2 separate regions of the Homo sapiens genome follow, and region 2 is linked to region 1. The links are contacts of gene promoters, found by promoter capture Hi-C in blood cells and fetal thymus (Javierre and others, 2016). All regions are on one chromosome and are shown on one strand. The core of a region is centred on a gene start or on the middle of the fragment in contact, and the rest is flanking DNA. Distances in the headings are between cores, read along the strand shown.

Region 1 (3,762 bases), core at 823-3,322:
TAATGCTACCTAAACCTAGGTGCTAAGCAAATTTCAACTCTTACATCTAGCCAATACTACCTTCCTTTCAAGTCTTAGTTACCTCTTTAGGCAGACTACTTCGCTGTTGCTGAAGGATAAAACCCATCACTCTCCATCTGAGATTCAAGACCCTCCATTATCTATCCCCAACGTACCTGTCCTTTAATTCATGATTTCAATACTATATGTTAGGGACTGTGCTAGGTGCTGGGGTTACAACTGTGAACTAGACAGACATGATCCCTGTCCTCAGGGAATTTACAGTATGGTAACAAATAGCCTTAATGTACTGAACTACAGTTATGTAAGTGCTATAAAAGTACAGGTTCTATGAGGGCTTACTAGGAAATTTAGTCTAGTTGCTAGTAAGGGTGGTAAAGAGAAGCAAGGACCATTTCTTAGGGACAATCTCCTTGAATTTTTTTTTTTTTTTTTTTAGTAGAGACAGGGTTTCACCATGTCGGCTAGGCTGGTCTCAAACTCCTGACCTCAAGTGATCCACCCACCTCGGCCTCCCAAAGTGCTGGGATTACAGGTGTGAGCCGCCCGGCCTAAAGAAGTGATTTTTTTTTTTTTTTTTTTTGAGACGGAGTCTCACTCTGTCACCCAGGCTGGAGTGCAGTGGTGCAGCCTCGGCTCACTGCAAGCTCCACCTCCCGGGTTCACACCATTCTCCTGCCTCAGCTTCCCAAGTAGCTGGGACTACAGGCGCCCGCCACCACGCCCGGCTAATTTTTTGTATTTTTAGTAGAGACGGGGTTTCACCGTGTTACCCAGGATAGTCTTGATCTCATAACCTCATAATCCGCCCGCCTCGGACTCCCAAAGTGCTGGGATTACAGGCGTGAGCCAACCGCGCCCGGCCTGAAGAAGTGATTTTTAGGCAGGGACTTGAGGGCTGAAACAGCAGTTAGCCAGTAGAAGGGGTAGGAGAAGAGGAGTCCAGGCAAATAGATACTCATACTGAAACAAGGAGATGTGGAGTTAGAAATCAGACAGCAGAGGTGGGGGAAGTGCCTGAATCACATGACCTTTTAATCTTGTAAATCAGAACCTTCGTGGTCTCAGTGCCTTTGCACAAAGGTGTTCTTTTCATCTGAAGTGCTCTTATTTGCCTGGAAATTCCTACTCAGATCTAAACATTCAATCGAATGTCATCTTCCTTGAAAAGTGTTCCTCCTATCCCTAAGGGAGTTTGCTACTGCAGCTTCCCTGCTCCACAGGGTATACCTAGGGGCCCTTACCTCACACTAGACTGGGGCTCTTTGAGAGCAGGAACCCAGTCTCACTTACTCAATGTCCCTAATGCCCAGCATAGTTACCGGCATAAGGAAAATTTCTGAGAATATTCAGAGTGAAAAAAGCTCGCAGTGCAGGGGAAATGCTAAAAGCTAACAAGAACTGTTTCAAGTGCTTTATATTTAATAATTCATTTATTTCCCACAAAACTTTTTGAGGTGGGTACCATTATTCTCATCATCACGGGCAGAACTGGGATTCTAACTCGGAGTCTGGCTTCAGCACCTGCGCTCTTCACCACCTATACTTACTCTTGATGATTATAATGACTTCTAATAATGGTTAACATTTACGAGGTACCGGGCCCTGTGCTAAACTTTTTATTTATCGCCGCTTCGGTTAATACGGATAACCATTATCAGCCATCTTGCAGATGGAAAAACTAAGTCTTGTCAGCACGTCCGGCTTCCAGGCACCCGCCTTTAACACGTGCGATACCATCTGGCTTCCAGAAAAGCCCAACAGAAGTGAGATGAGGCCGACTGCCTGGATTAGTTCATCGGGAAGCGGGTGAGGGTAAAAGCCTTTCTCGTTTCCGCATTTTAATGACGCAGAAAGGTACCTGTGGGGATTATCCCATCTCAGGGCAGATGAGGAAGCCAAGGTTCGGGGCGCGGAGCCCCAGAGGAGAACGCCGACCGCGGCCCGGACTTAGAGATTAGGCCGCAGGGGAGCGGGGCCTCGAGAGACTACGACCATTGCTCCACTTACTCACCGAGAAGCCGTCGCCGCCCGTAGTTTTCGACTTTCCCGCCAGGCCCGACGCCGCTCTGACGCCACCGAGGCGCGCCATGACGTGACGCCAACTTCCGCGCCGGAAGTGGAAGGCCGGGCAGCCCAGCTGAAGGCAATAAGCTGGGCTCACCGCTGCAGCAGAGTTCTGTGCTAGCCGGGCATAGGGGCGAGAGAAGGCCCAGAGGCGACGTCAGAGAGAAGCAACTGCGCCCCGGTGAAGAGAAGCTCGCCCATCACCGGCTGGGAGCCAGCTTTCAGTGAAGATGGCAGGGCCAGAACTGTTGCTTGACTCCAACATCTGCCTCTGGGTGGTCCTACCCATCGTTATCACTCTTCGTAGACATGATCCGCCACTACGTGTCCATCCTGCTGGAGAGCGACAAGAAGCTCACCCAGGAACAAGTATCTGACAGGTCAGCGCCCTCCCTTCCCCAGCCTACCTCACACCGCCGTGACCTTGGACAAGAAAGTGCAGGCGTTGTGTCAGTTTGCCTAGGTTCACGTCTCGCCCCCACTGGCAAGGTGACCTTACCCGTTACCTCTGTGTTTCACTTTTGTCCTCTGTGAAATGGGGATAATAACAGTACCTCCCTCATAGACAGGTGGGAATCAAATTAGATGATGTCTGTAAATCCCTTAGCACAGGATCTAGGACGTATTGAGTGTTAAAAACAAAAAACAAAAACGGTGCTGTTAATCCTTTAGGTTAGTCGCCAACCCTCGGTGGGTTTACCTATGAACTATCCCATCCCACCCTTTCGTTGGGAAGAGTGCCTGGTGCTTTATAGCTTTTAGTATTTGTAACATCCAGTCAAGTGAGTGTGATAATCTGCATTCTACCAAATTACTGTTCCAATGGTTAGCTGAGATGCTAAGCACCAAAGCGCTTTGCAATCTGTAACACTGCTGTTAGACATGTAAGGAATTGTAATTATCATTTCCCTTCCTAGGGTGGAGGCAACTTCCTCACATACTTCATTGCAGTATTTATTTATTTATTTAATTTAACTTAATTTAATTTTTGAGACGGAGTTTCGCTCTTGTTGCACTAGATTAAGTATCTATTATTTTTCCGTTTGCATATTTTATCACTTGAACAGAAACTCTGAGCGCAGGGTCATGACCTTGCCTTACTCTATACCCCATAGCATGCAGCAGAGTGCAAGGCACATGGTAGGCCATCAAAAAACTTGTTCACAGCCAGGCGTGGTGGCTCTCACCTGTAATCTCAATACTTTGGGAGGCTGAGGTGGGAGGATCGCTTGAGCCCTGGAGTTCAAGACCAGCCTGGGCAACACAATGAGACCACTGTCTCTACAAAAAAATTTAAACATTAGCCAGGTGCAGTGGTGTGTGCCTGTAGTCCCAGCTACTCGGGAGGCTGAGGTGTGAGGATCACTTGAGCCCGGGAGTTCGAGGCTGAAGTGAGCCATGATCGCACCACTGCGATTGCAGCCTCAATCACTGCAGCCTCGACCTTTTTGGTCCAGCCTGGGTGACAAAGCAAGACCCTGTCTCCAGAAAAACAAACGAAAAAACACTTGTTCAGTCTACGATAATTCAAGACTTTTCCAGGCAGTGTAATCAAAAGAAATTCATCTAGCTCTCCTATATTTACGCTGCTGAATAGTTTTGTAGAAATGGAGTTGAATATCATGACCCTGAGGTATTTTAAGACCCTAAATAAGCAATCTTAAATTATCCTGT
Region 2 (4,037 bases), core at 1,447-3,946, 660 kb after region 1:
AAATGGGCATACTGATACCCTCATCTCTTACACCCAGAGGTCAAAGGATAGAAGTTAAAGCTGATAAATAAAATGTAAGTATATTTAAAAGTTTAAGGGTGAACACTAAGAAAAATAACTGAAAAATAAAGGAAAAAAGTATAAATATGCCAATTTCATCATTGCTTTTAGCAGGGATTCAAAAAATACCGTGTATATATGGTAGATAAGGTAGATAATATCAAATTGTAGTTATAAAGGTAACAGCTAGAACACACACACATAAACCTTCCAAACTATTAGAAAACACAGGCATATGAAAAAAGTAAAGACATAATGTAAAGATTTTTCAAATTAAGAAAAAACAAAAAGTATGAGCATGACAAAACTAAGACTAAACAGTTGTCATTATCAATAAGTATCAATGGGATAAACACAAAGATGACACTCAGTTTGAATATGTACAAGAATTTACATAGTGTATTTGTTGCACCACTGTAATAGCAAAAGAATGTGAAAAACCCTCATGCCCTAAAATGGGACTGGTTAAATTATTATACAGCCAAACAATGGAGTATACGCAGCCAATTCCAGCAATGATACTGCCAGGATCTCCAACATATAGGTTGAACATTCCTAATCTCAAAGTCCAAAATCCAAAACCTAAAATTTTTTTGAAGTGCCAACATGATGCCACACAGGTAGCTGAGATAGTGACACCTTTGCTTTCTGATGGTTCAGTGTACACAAACTTTGTTTCATGTATAAATTATTTTAAAAATCATATAAAATTACCGTCAAGCTATACGTATAACGTATATATGAAACAAATGAATCTTGGATTTATTTATACATAGGTTCCACCCTCAGAGTATTTCTTTCTTTTTTTTTTTTTTTTTTTTTTTTGAGACGGAGTCTTGCTCTGTTGCCCAGACTAGAGTGCAGTGGCGTGATCTCGGCTCACTGCAACTTCTGCCTCCCGGGTTCAAGTGATTCTCCTGCCTCAGCCTCCCGAGTAGCTGGAATTACAGAAGCCCGCCACCGCACCCGGCTAATTTTTGTATTTTTAGTAGAGATGGTGTTTCACCACCTTGGCCATGCTGCTCTCAAACTCCTGACCTCATGATTCACCTGCTTTGGCTTCCCAAAGTGCTGGGATTACAGGTGTGAGCCACCATGCCCAACCCAGAATATTTCAAAAAACAAACAAACAAAAATCCAAAACATTTCTGGTCCCGAGTATTTCAGATAAGGGATACTCAACTTGTATATGAAAAAAAAGCATAGCGCAGAAAAGTATGTATGCTATGCTTTCATTTGTGTAAATAAAATACATTTATTCGTAAAATATCTCCAGAATAATACCCAAGAAATTGCTAACAGTTGTTGCCTCCAGGGAGGGAGCTGCATAGCATGAGGATATAGGAACAAAGACTTACTTTTCACTCTATATCCATTCAGTCTTTACAAGTTTGCTCCAAATACATGTATTAACTAGTCTTTAAAAACCCATATAAATCACAGATTTGTTCATACTTTTAAAAAGGCAGATGGAGGCCAGGCGCGGTGGCTTACGCCTGTAACCCCAGCACTTTGAGAGGCCAAGACAGGTGGATCACGAGGTCAGGAGTTCAAGACCAGCCTGGCCAAGATGCTGAAACCCCGTCTCTACTAAAAATACAAAAATTAGCCGGGCATGGTGGCATATGCCTATAGTCCCAGCTACTCGGGAGGCTGAGGCAGGAGAATCGCTTGAACCCAGGTGGCAGAGGTTGCAGTAGGCTGAGATTGTGCCACTGCACTCCAGCCTAGGCAACAGAGCAAGACTCTGTCTCAAAAAAAAAAAAAAAAAAAATATGCGCGGGTGGAGGTGGGGAATGGGGGCCAGGTGCAATGGCTTACACCTGTAATCCCAGCACTTTGGGAGGCTTAAGTGGGAGGATCACTTGAGCCCAGAAGTTTGAGACCAGCCTGGGCAACATAGTGAGACCCCATCTCAATATTTTTTAAAAGAGGGGGGTGGGGACTAATAAATTCATGATTATCATCTGAATACTTAAGAGAACTCATTAGAATTGCTTTAAGCTTTTCTAAAAGTTAGATTTTTACTTAATACAATTTTTATCTATTTTCAGTCTGACTTTTTTTTTTGAGATGGAGTCTCGCTCTGTCGCCCAGGCTGGAGTGCAGTGGTGTGATCTCTGCTCACTGCCAGCTCCGCCTCCCGGGTTCACGCCATTCTCCTGCCTCAGCCTCCTGAGTAGCTGGGACTACAGGCGCCCACCACTACGCCCGGCTAATTTTTTATATTTTTAGTAGAGACGGGGTTTCACCGTGTTAGCCAGGATGGTCTCGATCTCCTGACCTCATGATCCACCCGCCTCGGCCTCCCAAAGTGCTGGGATTACAGGTGTGAGCCACCACGCCAGGCCCTTAAGTCTGACTTCTTTTAGGTCTGGTCTTATTGTTTTCTAGGCTGAGGGTTCATACAACTTTGACTCGTTTTTGAATAACGTTTTGGAAATCAACATGCTTGCCAATAAATAAAAGTTAGACAATTAGGTAGCGTATCACAGTTGTTTTTAAAAAGATTATTTCTAAGATACGTAAAACTGATAGAAAAATGTTTTTAAGCGGTTAACTCTAGAAACCTAACCAAAAAGCAGTGTGGAAAAAACCTAAAGCCTTGCTGCAATCTATTTTCAACCTTCAGCTTAGGCAGCAGCTGAATATTTAGGATTCAGATGCTAAATACATATTGGAGACAAAGCTGTTGTCCTAACAACTGAAGGAGTATTTAGATGTTATTTTGGCTTTATTTCAAAAAATGAAGAAAGAGAAGAAAGCAGAGCAAAAGCAGGATGGTGAGGAAGTGTTATTTGTAGAAGACACAAACTGTCACTTGTTCTTTGGTTCATGTTCTGGAAGCAATTCTCTTTTGGAACTAAATATATGTAAAAGCAAAGCAAATCTAAGGTTTATATCTCTTACAAGTAAAACAAGGTGTTTTCTTCTTTCTTATAAACTTTAATGGTTTTCAATACTAATTTTCAAAAAACATCTTTTGGGATAGACTGTCAGCAAAACTCTAGATTTTACTGTAAAAGCCTCCCAGTATTCTCTATTACAAAGACTACAGTAATGCTAAACTTTCACAGACTATGAAAAATGGAAATAATCTCTTTGTGGAAGACAGCCAAAAATCAGCCACCATGTTTAGGATAGCTCACCTTTGTTTGTTTGAACTGGTAATCTTGAAACTCCTGAACCACCACAAATAAGTTATCAACTGATCTCAGACAATGAACCTGGGTGAAAAAAAAAGAAACACATTTCTGAGAAAGCTTTTGAACAGCACAAGCTATCAACAATTAAGTATTTAAAAAATTAGGAATGATAGTTTTAAAGCAGCTACTAACTATATTTTGTATTTTTAAAATGTCCCATCTCCCTAGTTTCTCATCTCTTTGGTTACTAATCAGCTTTCCCCTAGAGAAAGGGAAAAAGGGCAGATGGAAAGAGAGAAGCATGAAGTGTTTTGTGGGCAACACGTCTTTTGTGGGAGAAGAGAAAGGTGAAGCCACTCAGGTGGGCTGTATCATATTTCCTCGATGACTTTCTAGGGTACACTGTATGCTGCAATGGTTAAAAGCAGGGGATTTGAGCTCCAGTTCTGTGATTACTAGCTGAGTGGCCCTGGGGAAATTATTTATGTGTCCTAAGCCTAATGATTAATGAGGATAATAATAGTGCCTATCTTCACAAAGCTGCTGAGGGTATTGGCTAAAATATTGGATGGAAAACATTTGCTTACCAATTCATCCCACAGATATTTTCTGGGTACCTACTATATGCCAGACACTAAGAGCGTGGGATATATTGGTGGAAAAAAAAATAGACAACAATCCTTGCCCTCTCACTGCTTATGTGGTAATGAGATATATCAGCTTTATGATAGTGAGATTGCAGTTTTCTGACCTTCACTTTTTACCTTGAGTGAGTCCTAATTACTTCTGAGCAAGAATTTTTGATGCAAATTAAAAGGAAAATCTCTTTTA

What was found. Contacts are between HindIII fragments. The CHiCAGO score rates a contact against its expected background, and 5 or more counts as called.
Region 2: a contact is called between a fragment that was not itself captured here and the fragment with the promoter of FANCD2 in region 1, in 1 of 17 cell types (fetal thymus). The highest score is 5.2, in fetal thymus.

What each region holds. Positions count from the first base shown.
Region 1 is chr3:10,024,747-10,028,508 of GRCh38, reverse strand. FANCD2 (FA complementation group D2) reads right to left here and starts at 2,072. Exons shown (of 44, transcript NM_001018115.3): 1 at 2,036-2,072. It also overlaps the pseudogene CIDECP1. RefSeq lists enhancers at 1,339-1,973, 1,974-2,609, 3,245-3,762. The HindIII fragment of the contact is 7,543 bases long and covers 1-3,762 here.
Region 2 is chr3:9,366,158-9,370,194 of GRCh38, reverse strand. THUMPD3 (THUMP domain 3 tRNA guanosine methyltransferase) reads right to left here. Exons shown (of 10, transcript NM_001114092.2): 3 at 3,210-3,287. Among named protein-coding and RNA genes, the nearest start is that of THUMPD3, 5.1 kb to the right of the region's middle. The HindIII fragment of the contact is 1,259 bases long and covers 2,067-3,325 here.